Regions from separate parts of the Homo sapiens genome. Here regions 2 and 3 are each linked to region 1. The links are contacts of gene promoters, found by promoter capture Hi-C in blood cells and fetal thymus (Javierre and others, 2016). All regions are on one chromosome and are shown on one strand. Each heading gives the region's core, a stretch centred on a gene start or on the middle of the fragment in contact. The rest is flanking DNA. Distances are from core to core; before and after follow the strand shown. Region 1 overlaps MXD4 (MAX dimerization protein 4). Region 2 holds the start of SLC75A1 (solute carrier family 75 member 1). Region 3 holds the start of ADD1 (adducin 1).

Region 1 (4,680 bases), core at 1,527-4,026:
GAGCCACCCAGCGTCTCAGGGACCTGTCCCTCCGTCACGTCGTCAAAGTGTGCCTTGTGTCTTGTGTCAGGCCTTGCCCTTCCCACCAGCATGTCCCTCGTGGCTCAGGGTGCCCCAGGCCTGCCCAGCTAGTGCTGTCCTCCCATCTCCTGTGGGCAGCCCCTCCCGGCAGCCAGGGCTTCCTGGAGGCGATGCAGCCAGGCCCCTGTGGGTGGCACGGAGGGGCTGTGACCTGGTCCCCAGTGTTGCCCTCCCCAGTGGCTGGCAGGGGCCTGCTTGCTCACTAGAGAGATGGATTCTCACCTGTCACCTGACTCGAGCCCCCTGCTTCCTGGCCTAGGCGAGGGTTCCAGGTTTCAGACACTGGCAGCCAATGAAGACTGTGCTCGCTGGGTGGTGCAGGCCTGGCACCAGGAGGCTTGCACCCGCCTTTCCTTCCTGACGTCCTCTGTCCTTGGGGCTGGCCCATAGCAGTGCCTGCCGTGCCTCTGGTACATCTGTAGCCAATTCCCATATCATGGGGAAAATTCGTGTCTATTTTCAGTCGTACGCATAGACGCCCCAGGATGGGGGGCCCACTGTGGCGGAAGGGGGTCCCTGGAAACAACTCTGGCACAGAACCTGCCCTGCAGGCTGTAGGGGGCATGGTGCCTGGAGCTGAGGGGCATCCGAACGCGTTGCGGGTGGTTGTGAGGAGGCCTGTCTGCATCTCCTTCCGGCCCCACTGGGGTCCAGGGGTGCCCAGAAAGGAGCTTCCCCTGCCTGCCTGAGTCTGTCCCCCCAGGCTTCATTTCAAACACCGTGGCACCTCCGAGCAAGGCGGGCCGTGTGTAAAAGCTTGCTTCCCCAGCCAGCACTGCAGGGCCCTGAGGTGGTCGTGTCCCTGCCCTCAATTCTTGAAGCACCAGCTCCCTGCCCCACCCTCCAGTGCCTGAGGCAGCTAGGGGCTTCTGCTCTCATCTCTGACCAGCAGAATCCACCCGGTGACCAGTGGTGGCCCCTCAGCCCACCCTCCCGGCAGCTCAGCCTGTGGCTCTTGAGGCCGTGGTTCCCACGTGGACTGGGAGGCAGTCTCAGCCACCCGGGGTGCTGTTCAGCTGCCCCTCCCTGCCATCAGCAGGTGGGTGAGGGGTTGCCCACTGGGTGGGGGCCCGTGCTAGGAGTCACCACATGCTCCAACCTCCCACTGCTCCCTGTCAGGGGCCCAGGCTGCCATCACTGGAGGCTGCAGGGACCAAGAGGCCATCACCGTGTCTATAGAGAGCAGACAGAAGCAGAACAGAGCCCGGGGCTCCTGAGCCTCTGCGTGTGCCCTCCCAGCCCACACCAGTGCTCTCGGCCACTGAGCACCCAGACTCAGGCTTGGGTTCCCCAGCCTTATTGGAAGGCAGCTCCCGCATACCAGGATAACCCCCGCAAACCACATAGCAGACCCCCGCCATCCTCGCAGAGTGGGAGAGGCTGCAGCAAGGCTTTGCCTCTGCAGACCCCATCTTAGTGGCACGGTGCTTGGGCCTGTGTCCCCGGGTGGTGGAACCCTGTACCGGTCTGTGGCCCTAGGGTCCCTGCTCTGTCTGCCCCGGCCCGTGCTGTCCGCTGGGTGAGGCAGGCTCCCCCGTGCCCTGCCTCCCTCTGTCAGGGAACCTGGGACCCCCTCCCCACTGCCTGCACAGAGGACCCTGACCCTCGGCCAGCAGGGTGGCCCCAGGTCCATGTTGGGCACTAGGGCAGGTTCCGTGCCAGAGTCGGGGGCCACACGAGGGCCTGGTGCCGGTGAGGGGGGCGTGCGCTAGAGGGGGAAAGGGGCCCCCGGCCACCTGTCCACCGTGTGGGCCGTGCTGTGTCCTTATGTCATTGTAATATAAATACAGATTTTTATATCTCACCCTGCTGGCTCCGGCTCTTTCTGTGGTTGTCACTGTCAGCGTGCTTCGCGCCCTGCCCTCGGCCTCCAAGCAGAAAGCCTGGCCCAATGGCACCACGCCATGTGGCCTTCGGGCCGTGGCCCTCGTTGCCCTACCACAGCCTCTTTCCTGGGAGGCCTGACGGAGCACGGCACCCCGTGCCGCCAACCACACCGGGCCCGCCGTCACAGCTGCCTCCCTGGATGCTGTGGCGCCTGGAGCTGGGTGAAGGTGGGGTTGAGGTGGGCGCCCCCATGGGCCTGTTGGCCAACTGGATGCTCTTGTTGCTCTTGTCCCAGAGGCACTGGGACTTTGCCTCTGGCCCTTGTGCTGGGGCCCTGCTGGCCGAGGACAGCCCGCTCCCTGGGGTGCTCCGTGCCAGCCAGGAGCCCTCTGCACAGAGGCTGCTGGCTCTCAGAGCTGCACTGTGAGAATCGCTCTGTACCTGTTCCCAGAACTACCTGGGCACGGCTTCTGCTTCCTGTCATGGGGACCTGCCGTGCTGAGGTGAAGCGAGATGGTGTAGCCAGCTGTCCCCTTGTGCTGGTGGTGACCACGGAGACACAGGCTCCTGTCGTGCCCATCACGGGGTGGTTGTGAGGCGATGAGACTTCACGCAGTGGGGAGAAGAGGCCTTGTTCTCACCCAAGCAAGCCAGGCTGGCTGCCCGCTCCCCCACAGGGAGGCCTTTTGGAGGGAACCCCCTTGGAAGCAGAGACCTCTGATCTGCCGAGGGCCGGGGTTGGTGGGGGTGTGGGCCCAGCTACCCTGGTGCACAGGGAGGAGTCCTGGGGGCCCCAGCAGTGGGCAGCTGAGAGAGGACATGCCTGCCTTGAGTGCTGGAGAATTGATGGAGCTGGGTGGTCATACGGGGGGTCCTGAGTGTGAGGTCGCCACACTGTGCACACGGCAGCTATGCACTGGAGGTGGCCCAGTGGGACCCGCCAGCAGGTTGTGGGGTGGCCATGGAGGGTAACTGCTGGGGGCCTCAGGGAGGAATCTGAGCTCCCCTAACCCCCAGCAGCAGAGTCCGGATCGTTGAACCTGTGTGGGCCCCAGGGCCCTCGAGGCCATTAGCGGGGGCACCCCAGGAAAGAAAGCAGTTCCTCCTGGGAATGTGGCTGGGGCCTCAGAGACACCAGGATTTGGCCATTCATGTAAATGTGGACATTTAAATCCCAAATATTAGGATTTGGGATCACCACTACCGTTTTCTATCGAGGGCATGCAGGTGCCAGGGGCTGTGCCCAGTTCCATGTATGATTGGTGCCTGGTACCATCATGCTGGGCCCTTCTCACAGGTGGCACACTGAGATTTGGAGACGCACCCCTCCCCTGCTCACCAGGCTGGCGGGTGGGATACCTGGGACAGGACCCCTGTCCTTTGGGAAGCCCTTGATTCTCCCAGCAGAGTCCATCTCTGTTTTCCATCTTTGTGCTTGTTGGGTTACAGCAAGTCCCCCTCCAAGTAGGACCCTGCCTGCAGCCTCCTACCCACCCTCTTCTTGGCAGCCTGAATGACCTTAAAGGTCTCCTTGCTCACCTCCCTAAAGTCCTCCTCTGGGTCCCCATGGCCTCCAGATTAAACTGAAACACCGCGTTTTGTCCTTCAGCTCAGTCCGGCCCACCCCTGCCCTGGCTTCAGCCCCCACTCCCACCTGCTCCCTGCATTCACCAGCTCAGGCACAGCCTCCTCTGGGAAGTGGGCCCTGAGCCCCCTATATCCCTTCCCACCACATTTTTGCTGAGATTATGGTCACCCAAATTAGGCGCTGGAATCATCTGGGCTAATCGCCACAGGGCCTTCTCGCATTGCTCCTTCCTCCTTTCCTAGTCCTTGGCCAGGTCAGCCCTGTACACACTGGCCTCATGGGGATCTTTCTAGAATGTAAATGGTTATGCCACTGGCCTGCTGAGCCTCAGGGGTTCACAACTCCTCTTCCTGTCCTGAGGCCCTTTCTGACACCCCACCAGTCCCAGGCTCTGCTGCCAGCCCTTGTGGTTCCCATTCCTCCCCACTTCAAAGGCCCTCTCCACGTGGCCACCTTGGTGAATGAACTCTGTCACCTCCTTTGGGCTTGTGCTGACCCAAACCTGCTCCTGAGTCTGGGGACTGAGTTCTCGCTTTGTCACATGAATGTCAACAGGATGGAAAACAAACTCTTTCCCAACCCTATAGTCTTCTACTTTCTTCTTAACAGGAAGGATTAGTGGGAAGAATAGGAAGAAATGCCACTCCCTACTCAGCTGGAAACCCCGGAGTGTCTCGGACCCAGGCTAGTCATCAGGCCCCAGGCTTTGCCAGCTCCTGCAGCTCTCTCTGTCCAGCTCTCTCCTCCTCTCCTACATGCTGCAAGAGTGGTCCTGTATCTTGTCTCTTACCACCTTTTGTCATTTTTCATCTTGCAGAATTATGCTTCTAACACACATCTGAGAATTCACTCTCCTGCTTGAAAACAGCCCCCATTCTCCATTGCTTGCAGAATAGAGTCCCACAAAATTCATGGAAAACTACATCTAAAAGAAATAATCTTTAGCATCTGACTGTTACTTCTAAAGTTTAAAAACAGTCAGAAAAGATACTGTCCAAAACCTAAAATATTTTTTAATACTAATAGGAGAAAATCGCTTCCACAGGAAGGAGAAAAAGCAAACAGCAAAAACACTTGATCCTCACAGCTCTGTCTTTAGGTCTGTTTAGTCCATTATATTCTCATGGGCTTTTTCAGGGAGGATTAATTCCTGGGTTCCATTTATCTTTTGACCTTACTAAAAC
Region 2 (4,680 bases), core at 552-3,051, 690 kb before region 1:
AAAAAGTGGGACCGGACCAGGCACCTGGCTGTCCATTGAGGCCTTGCTATGCGATCCAGGACGGAAGGTGCCGGCAGCAAGCTCATACACTCTAGCTGCGTGTCATGTCATTGAAGAGGGCGCGTGATCCAGCTGGAAGGGTGGATAAAAGTGTAACTGCCCAGTGGGTTCACCTTCCCTGTTACCTAGACAGCCAATTTATCAAGAAAGGGCATTTGCAACAGAGAAAAGGTAATTCACGCAGAGCTAGCTGTGTGGGAGACTGGAGTTTTATTATTACTCGGTCTCCCTGAGCATCTGGGGTTTGGAGTTTTTAAAGATAAGCTGGTGGGTGGGGGGCAGCCAGTGAGTCAGAAGTACCCATTGGTCAGGTCAGAGATGAAATCACAGGGAGTCGAAGCTGTTTTCGCACTGAGTCAGTTCCTGGGTGCCACAACATCAGATGAGCCTGGGTGGTGCCAGGTGACCCACCAAGTGCTGATCTTAGGCTTTACGATGGTGATGTTATCGCCAGGAGCAGTTTGGGGAGGGTCAGAATCCTGTAGCCTCCCGCTGCGTGACTCTTCAACCGTAGTTTCTAATCTTGTGGCTAATCTGTTGGTCCCACAAAAGCAGGCTAATCCCCAGGAAAGGTTTCCTTTGGGAAAGGGCTGTTATCATCTTTGTTTTAAACTAAGTTCCTCCCACAGTTCAACCTGCGTGCAGCAGTAAACAAGGAGGGCATGGAGGTTAGAAGCAAAATGGAGCTGGTTATCTCACTGTCGGCAAATTTTGCAATGGCAGTTTCATAGAGATGCCTGTCCTCTGGGAAAAAAGCTAATAACAGGTTGTCTTTTTGGCTGCAGGTGGAAAACTGCATCTATTAGGAAGAGGTGGGGCTTTGTTCTTACCCACAATTGGAAGTTCTCTATGGAGTAAAGGCGGTATGTGTGCCACCTGATTCCTTTCCCCATGTGTATCTGGTTAGGGTCGGCCACGTGAGATCCGCAAGCATTTTAGAAGGTGGGAGGGGAGGTGGGAGCTGGCTACAGGCCAGGCGTTGGCGTGGTTCCGTGAGTGTGCTCCAGCCAGGCCCAAAGCTTCTCCTGCCCAGAGGGACCGTTTCCTCCAGCGTGGGTCGGGTGCTTCTGCGCCCGGAAAGAGCGCCAGCTCCTCCTTCGGGTGACCCAGGGAGCGGGGCTGCAGGCAAAGGCGCAGGCGGCCAAAAAGGTGCCAACCGGGTCCTGTGGCTTTCAGTTGTCTCTGCCCACCCAATTCACACCATCTTTCCCCCTCAGCCGCCTGTCCTGGGACTTCAGGCTCAGCACCAAACGCAGCAAAAGTAGGTGCACAGAGAGCGGGGTCAGCTCACGCAGCCCGAGCAGAATGGCTGTGCTGCCGCCCCAGGCCCGCGGCCACCGCTGTGTGTGTGGCAGGAGTCAGCCCCCCAGCGTGGGGCCCCGAAGCCCGCGGTCCTTCCACGGGGAGGGCCAGGCCCGCAGGGCGCAGACGATGGGGGACAGGCTGCGCCAGCGCTCGCCTGAGGCCCCGCACACAAACCTCAGGCCCATGGGTCCGCTCCGCGGGGCAGGCGTCGTGGGCCCAAGGAGGCCAGGCCAGGAGTCTCGGCCTCGGGGTTACGCGGCGGCGGGCAGCTCTTCCGCTCCGCTCAGGGTGCTGCTAACCCACAGCCAAGCAGCGACCCGCAGGACCGGCGAGAACCCCGCCACTGACTCCGGCCGGAAGAGAACGTGCAGAGATGTACGTCACTTCCGGGGCGTGGCGTGGCCGGGCGTGGCCGTCCCGCCCCTGGCGGCGTGCCTGGTGCCCTGTTCCGCGTCTGTGCGACCGTCCGTCCCGAGCGCGCAGCCGCGGCAGGTGCGGGGCGGGACCGGGGGCGCCCGGGGTGGGGGGCGTAGGGGGCGCTCGGGTTGGGGGTGGGACAGGGGACGCGCGGGGTGGGGGAGGAGACGGGACCCGGGGTACGCGGGGGTGGGGCGGGTGAGAGGTGCGCAGGGTAGGGGAGTAGGGGGCGCGCGGGGTGTGGGGCTGGACCAGGGGCGCGCGGGGTGGGGGCGGTGGGAGGCGCGCGGCGTGGGGGTTAGAGGGCGCGCAGGGTGGGGGACGGGACCGGGGACGCGCAGGGTGGGGGGCGGGACCGGGGGCGCGCGGGGTGGGGGCGGGACCGGGACGCACGCGGGATGGCGGAGTGGGAGGCGCGCGGGGTTGGGGGTGCTCCTGCGTCCGGTGTGCACCCCATGGCCCCCGCCAGGGAGACCGAGTCCGGGCCAGGGGCCGGAATCGCGGGGCGCGGGCCGGGGCTGGGGTTGGGGTTGGGATCGGGATCGGGATCGGGATCGGGATCCGGGTTCCCCGCGGCTTCAAGTTTTCTCTCGCTGTTACGAGGGCGTGGGAGGCGCGGCCGTGGGGTGGGGTGGGGCCAGGTCCGCGATGTGCTCACCCTGGTCTCTCAGGACCGTTGCCTTTGCGGCTATTTTTTGTGCAATCCCCGAAGCCTGCGTTTCCTGCTGCCTGGGTTCGGGGCGGGGGCATCGCGCAGGCCAGAACGGCCCCTGCGTCCGTAGGCCAGAGCCCCTGCCATCAGCCCCTTTAGGGTGCTCGCCGGCTGTCGGGTGTGGGGGTATGCCAGGCCCCGGAGGACTCGGCTTCCCCGCTAACCCGACCCGCCGCACCCCACCCAGGCCAGGTCAGAGCAGCCCACCATGGGATGGGGAGGGGGTGGAGGCTGCACCCCGCGCCCACCCATCCACCAGCAGCCGCCGGAGCGCCGCGTGGTCACCGTTGTCTTTCTCGGCCTCCTGCTGGACCTCCTGGCCTTCACGCTGCTGCTGCCCCTGCTGCCCGGGCTGTTGGAGAGCCACGGCCGTGCCCACGTGAGTCCTTGCCCTGCGGCCCACAGTGCCCCCTGCCCCCCAGGCCCATCAGACCTCCCCAGCCCTTATCGTGATTCCTCATCCCCTAGGACCCCCTCTATGGCTCCTGGCAGGGCGGGGTGGACTGGTTTGCCACCGCCATCGGGATGCCAGTGGAGAAGAGGTACAACAGTGTCCTGTTCGGAGGTATGGCTGGCTCTGTGCCCTTGGCGGGCTCTCTACGGTCCTATGTTTGGTGGACGTGGTCCAGCCCAGGCCCCTCCCCAATTCTCGGTCCTTGCCTTCCCACTCCCTGGGCTGGCATGTCTGGTGCCCTTGCCCACATGTCCTGGCTTCTGGGCATGATCCCTTGCCTCCGCGTGTCACGTTCAGATCCTTCCTCATCTCTCCATTGGGGCCCCCTCGGCTCAAGGGCCATGGCCTGTGAGTGTAGGGCCCAGCATGACTGGACCCTCAGGACGGGGCTGGACATTGGCCTTGAGGGCCCCAAGACCACAGCTCATGGTGCCAGGCAGCCCCATGATGGTGACATCTGTCTCTCAGGTCTCATTGGCTCGGCATTCTCTGTCCTGCAGTTTCTGTGTGCGCCACTCACTGGGGCCACCTCTGACTGCTTGGGGAGGCGCCCGGTGATGCTGCTGTGCCTGGTATGTTCCTGGGCCTGGGTGCCCATGGGGAAGCCTCCTCCCACCCAGCCAGTAGCCCCATGGGGTTAGGTGGGGAGAGGGAGGTGGCTGTGGGCCCCTCATGGCCACTGGTTGGCCCTCATCGCATCCTGGAGGGGGTTCTCGGGGGACCAGTGGCTCCTGTTCCAGAGCCAGGCTTTCAAGGAGCTGCTCCTGGCCCCTAGGAAGGCACTGAGAACGCAAGTGGCCCTCAGATGCTTCGAAATAGGGCAGGGTTGAGGGGTGTTGTCTGGGTTGCCAAGCCCTACTCTGAGCCACTCCTGGCCTTAAGCGACCGCCCCTGCCTCTTGGCCCCTGCCCCTGGGCAGATGGGTGTGGCCACCTCATATGCAGTCTGGGCCACCTCTCGGAGCTTTGCGGCCTTCCTGGCCTCCAGGCTGATTGGGGGCATCAGCAAAGGGAACGTCAGCCTCTCCACGGCCATCGTTGCTGACCTGGGCTCGCCTCTGGCCCGCAGTCAAGGCATGGTAAGTGCACAGGCTGGGCCTTTGGGGTCCTGGTGGTGACTTCTGGGCCTGGGTCTCCCTGTGCAGCTCGGGTGGTCTTTTCCCTAGGCGGTCATTGGGGTGGCCTTCTCACTGGGCTTCACCCTGGGCCCTATGCTCGGAGCCTCCCTGCCCCTGGAAATGGCACCCTGGTTTGCCCTGCTCTTCGCAGCCTCCGACCTGCTGTTCATCTTCTGCTTCCTGCCAGAGACGCTGCCCCTGGAGAAACGGGTAGGGCTGTGGTCTGGGACCCACAGGCCTAGGGGCTGGAGGCTTGATTCCATAGCGATGTAAAGTGCCCCTGTGTGCCAGCCCCAGATGCCAGGGAGGCTGGGCCGCTCTCTTGGTGTTGGGACCCTTGAGGCCACAGTCCGTGGGTTGCCAGGCCAGCAGCCGCTCCTGCAGGCTCTCCAATGCCATCCCCACAGGCGCCCTCTATCGCCCTGGGGTTCCGTGATGCGGCTGATCTGCTCAGCCCCCTGGCCCTGCTGCGCTTCTCGGCTGTCGCTCGTGGCCAGGACCCACCCTCTGGAGACAGTAAGGACTCGACCAACCCAAGCGTGGAGCCTGCTCTCCCCTGGGCTTCCCCGGGCGGCGCCCTTCCCTGCTGTGGTCGCCTTCTCAGCACGCGCCACC
Region 3 (4,680 bases), core at 560-3,059, 600 kb before region 1:
CTTGTACGAAGTATATTTTAGAAGGAAAACTATCTCACAATTCGGGGACTGGCTAGAGTTTAGACTCACATCACTCAGCGACTCTCCGAAACTTTAAAACCTAAAGACACCACAAGTAGAAAACTAACAAATCATACCAGCTGTCCATACCATTGTAAACCACATCGAAACTCTGAAAAGCAGTTTTGACTGCCCAAATCATCCACTTCCTGAAAAGACAACTTTACTATTCTAGTTTTCTCCACTGTCAAAATCAAAGGAGTATATTAAAATTTTAACGTAGGCCAGGCGCGGTGGCTCACGCCTGTAATCCCAGCACTTTTGGAGGCCTAGGCGGACGGATCACGAGGTCAAGAGACTGAGACCATCCTGGCCAACATGGTGAAACCCCGTCTCTACTAAAAATACAAAAATTAGCTGGGCGTGGTGGCGCGCGCCTGTAGTCCCAGCTACTCGGGAGGCTGAGGTAGGAGAATTGCTTGAACCTGGGAGGCGGAGATTGCAGTGACTGGAGATCGCGCCACTGTACTCCAGCCTGGCGACAGAGCGAGACTCCGTCTCAAAAAAAAAAGGTATCATCGCGGGCCTTTGTCCATTCAAGGCTCCAAAGTTTACAAACTCACTTTCATACAATTCACACCCTCTGCCTGAAATGCCCTCCTCTCTCTGGTGCCTGTTGAACTCCTACTCATCCACTCCAAGCTTGTTTTCACTAGGCGCCTCTACTCATAGACACAGTCGACCTATCAGCATTCTATTTCCTATCCCCATTAAGATCTCAGTCAATTTTTCACACAAAAAATCTTTCTTTAACTTACCAGTAATGCATACAGCTATCAGCTATGTCTTTGGTCTTTGGAGATATGACAATTGCTTTTTGTCTTTCTAAACATAAATTATGCTCAAACCAACAACAGTTTCAGGCGAACCAAAATACGTTTTTCAAGGTGGGTATGCATAAAGTGAATGCAAATTACCTCCCAACTATCTTGAGCCATTACAAGAGCAAAGATAAAAGTCATCCTAACAGGGAAAGGCCCTCTGACATCTCCCAAAAAACGAAAATAAAAGATTAAGAAAAAAGAAAAGAGAGGGAGGGCAAAGGTGACCAACAGCCCCATCGCTGATAAAGTTCCACGATTATCTCTCGAGCGTCCGTCGGCAGATATGGCTTTTCTCTTTTGGCAGAAGCCGTCGTTTTTAAATACGAGAGCCGACAGATGCGTCCGTACACAAACCTTGCAGCCACCAGCGCTGCGGACCGCGGAACCGGTCTCACAAGCAGGATGCTGACCAGCGTCCAGCCAGGGTCGTCCTCCTCCGCCCCCACCCCTGCAGCCCACAAGCCGGCCAGGAACGAGCGGCCCGGGAAAAGCCTAGTCCCCGGGGTCCTATCCCGATGAAAGATCTGCGGCGCCCTCGCTCCCCGGCTCGGCCCAGGCCGAAGGCCCCGCGGGGACCCCTCCAAGACGCCCTCGGCGCCGCAGCGGCCTCCCCGCCCCCGAGGCTGCCCGGGCCGCCGCAGGCCCCGCGGCCCCCGCCCGCCGCAACCGCGGCCCAGTTCCCCGCGCCCCCGCCGCCGCCTCAGCCCGAACCGGGCCCCCGCCGCCCCCGCTAGCTAGCCTCACCTCAGAAGCGAATCGTGGGCAGCGCGCGGGATTCCGGGGTCCCAGTGCGGCCACCGCCCGTCGGCTCCGGCTCCGGCTCCGCCCCCGTCCCCTGGCCCGCAGCAGCGGCCCGCCAGGCCTCTCCGCCCCTCAGCCCCTCCGCTCGCCCCCACCGCCCGACCTGGGTGCGGCCTGCGGCGCTGCAGCCCAACAACGCGCCGTCCCATAGGCCAAGCCGCGCAGCACTGCCGAGCAACGTACCCTGCGATTGGCGGGACCCATGAGGGGCGGGTCCCCTGCGGGCAGGGCGATTGGACTCGCCAGGCCCGCCTCGGGGCGACCCCGCCGGGGCCTGCGGAGGCCCAGGGTCCCGCGCGGAGTACACCCCGGCCGGCAGCTTCGGGCGCCAGGTCATGGCTTCACGGTGGCCAGGTAGACTGCGGCGAGCCCCTGCCGGGTCCGCTGGACACGGTTTCATTGTGATTGACCTCCGCCGGAGGGGCTGTCGGAGCCCAGGGACCCTGCCCTCCCGCCGCCGCCCAGCGCACTCCCCCAGCAGACGGGCCCTGCCCCGCGTAGCCCCGCCTTGTGCAGTCCCCAGGCCGAGTTTTGGGGCCCGGGTGGGGTCAAGGCAGCAGGGCCTGTGGGCCCCGATAAGGCTCCACAGAGGACAACTGCCTGGCCCCCGGGCCCGGCCTGCGGGTGCTGAGGAGACCAGCGAGCACCAGCCACCTCCGCACGACCAGGGAGTGAGCCTGCGGGGCTTTGGCAGGACCAGCCTCAGACCAGCACCTTCCCGCACACTGTCCCTCCTGCTGGCGCATCTGACACCCAAAAAAACAAGCAGCGAGACAAATGGGCACGGCTGCTTGTCCTCTTGACACCCATAGAAAGCTTAGGTCCAGAGCTGGGCAGTGGCAGAAGAGTGTGGAATCCAGACCTCCCTGCTCAGCAGGAGCCTCTGTGACATTGCCCCAACAAGGGTCAGGGATACTGTCTGGATGGAAGCCAGCGACCCCTGTTCTAACCATTTCTGTTGGACGTTGGCTTTTCCAAGACGATTTTTCTGACAAGATCACAATTCTGTCTCATTCACTTCTGCTTCCCATAGTTAATCACTAGGGAAACGCAAATCAAAACCACTGTGGGATACCACTTAACATTCATTAGGATGGCAGTTGAAGAAGCAGGGAGTTGGGCGCAGTGGCTTCAGCCTAAAATCCCAGCACTTAGGGAGGCAGAAACAGGAGGATAGCCTGAGCCCAGGAGTTGGCAGACTTGACTGGACAACATAAGGAGACCCTGTTCTCTACAAAAACGAGAAGAAAACAAAAAGTTTCAAGGGGGGAGAAGGAGGAAGAAGAGGAAAAAAAGAAAATAAGTGTTGGCAAAGATGCGGAGAAATTGGAACCCTTTGTGCATCGCTGACGGGAATGTAAAATGGTGTGGCTGCTGTGGAAAACCGTAGAGTGGTTCCTCAAAAAATTAAACATAATTACCACATAATCCAGCAATTCCACTTCTGGATATATACCCCAAAGAAATGAAAACAGCTATTTGTACCATGTTCATAGCAGCATTATGCAGAGAAGGAAATTCTATTTATTGGGGTTTTGTGCCTTTTTTTTTTTTTTTTTTTTTTTTTTGGAGTCAGGGTCTCTGTCGCCCAGGCTGCAGTGCAGTGTTGCAACCATGGCTCACTGCAGCCTTGACCTCCTAGGCTCAAGGGATCCTCCTGCCTCAGCCTCCCAAGTAGCTGGGACTACCAGCACGTGCCAACATGCCTGGCTAATTTTTGTTATTTTTTGTAGAGACGGGATCTCACTATGTTGCCAGGGCTGGTCTCAAACTCCTAGGCTCAAGCAATCTTCCCAAATCCAAACTCAGCCTCCCAAAGTGCTGGGATTACAGGCATAAACCCATAAACCACGATGCCTGGCCAAAAGAAAGGAAATTCTGACGCATGCTACAACATGGATGAACACTGAAGACATGCTATGTGAAATAACCCAATCACAAAAAGATAAATGTATGATTCCACTTGTATGAGGTGTCTAGAGTAGTCAAATTCAGAGAGACAGGAGGTAGAATGGTGGTTGCAAAGGGCTGGAGGAATGGGGATTTAGTGTTTAATGGGTACAGAGTTTAAGCTTGGGGTGATGAAAAAGTTCTGGAGATGGATGGTGGTGATGACTGAACAATAATATGAATATTCGCAAAGCCACAGAACTGTACACTTTAAAATAATTAAAATGATAAACTTTATAATATGAAAATTTTATCATAATAAAACAATTTTAAAGCTATTAAAATATTCCTTCCTTTTCCAACTACAAAAAAGTAAAAAGGTCCAGGCGTGGTGGCTCTTGCCTGTAATCCTAGCAATTTGGGAGGCCAAGGCGGGAGGATTGCCTGAGCTCAGGAGTTAAGAGATCAACATGGACAACATGGCAGAACACTGTCTCTACTAAAAATACAAGAAATTAGCTGGGTCTGGTGGCAGGCACCTGTAATTCCAGCTACTCAGGAGGCTGAGGCACAAGAATTGCTTGAACCCAGGAGATGGAGGTTGCAATGAGCCAAGATGGCGCCACTGCACTCCAGCCTGGGTGACAGAGACTCTGCCTCCAAAAAAAAAAAAACAAAAAAACAAATACGGTCTTAGGTGAGAGTTTTAAAATACATTGAGTTAGAATTAGATATATACAACAATAATATCAAGTAATGAGGGAGACCAATGAAAGTCACCTGAGGTCCTTATGTTGTCCAGGAGGAGGATAAAAGTATTTATTAGTTAACTCTAGACTTCAGTAAGAATAGAGAGTGTTTAACTTTCTAACTAGGAGAAGGGGGGAAATGAAATGATTTGTTTTAAGTTGCTCAATCTCAAAGAAGGGGAAAAGGAGAGAAAAGGGAGGAAGAAAACACAAACACAAGTGAGACAATATGTAGCATAAAATAAGATGGTAGATTTAATTACATTAAATACACAATGGACAAAATGCTCCAGTTAAAAGACAAGGTGTGTTTTATATGCTATTAACAAAAAAAAAAATGAAATTAAAAATACACA

Evidence for each region. Contacts are between HindIII fragments. The CHiCAGO score rates a contact against its expected background, and 5 or more counts as called.
Region 2: the fragment with the promoter of SLC75A1 here is called in contact with a fragment that was not itself captured in region 1 in 3 of 17 cell types (neutrophils, fetal thymus and activated CD4 T cells); the score reaches 6.8 in neutrophils.
Region 3: a contact is called between the fragment with the promoter of ADD1 here and a fragment that was not itself captured in region 1, in 4 of 17 cell types (erythroblasts, neutrophils, monocytes and 1 more). The highest score is 7.4, in erythroblasts.

Annotation. Positions count from the first base shown.
Region 1 is chr4:2,244,637-2,249,316 of GRCh38, reverse strand. It overlaps MXD4 (MAX dimerization protein 4), which reads left to right. Exons shown (of 6, transcript NM_006454.3): 6 at 1-1,885. Among named protein-coding and RNA genes, the nearest start is that of MIR4800, 3.2 kb to the left of the region's middle. The HindIII fragment of the contact is 3,873 bases long and covers 840-4,680 here.
Region 2 is chr4:2,931,946-2,936,625 of GRCh38, reverse strand. SLC75A1 (solute carrier family 75 member 1) reads left to right here and starts at 1,801. Exons shown (of 13, transcript NM_001146069.2): 1 at 1,801-1,857; 2 at 2,682-2,873; 3 at 2,963-3,059; 4 at 3,417-3,520; 5 at 3,868-4,026; 6 at 4,114-4,275; 7 at 4,473-4,581. The coding sequence starts at 2,703. It overlaps NOP14-AS1 (NOP14 antisense RNA 1), which reads right to left and starts at 1,080. Exons shown (of 4, transcript NR_015453.2): 1 at 1-1,080. RefSeq lists enhancers at 1-963, 2,221-3,088, 3,181-3,310, 3,331-3,560, 4,281-4,330 and silencers at 1,352-1,461, 1,622-1,931, 2,161-2,380. The HindIII fragment of the contact is 5,918 bases long and covers 1,082-4,680 here.
Region 3 is chr4:2,840,973-2,845,652 of GRCh38, reverse strand. ADD1 (adducin 1) reads right to left here and starts at 1,809. Exons shown (of 16, transcript NM_001354761.2): 1 at 1,629-1,809. SH3BP2 (SH3 domain binding protein 2) reads right to left here. Exons shown (of 13, transcript NM_001122681.2): 13 at 4,557-4,680. RefSeq lists silencers at 1,348-1,497, 1,618-1,807, 1,868-2,247, 2,348-2,397 and an enhancer at 2,526-3,037. The HindIII fragment of the contact is 1,799 bases long and covers 705-2,503 here.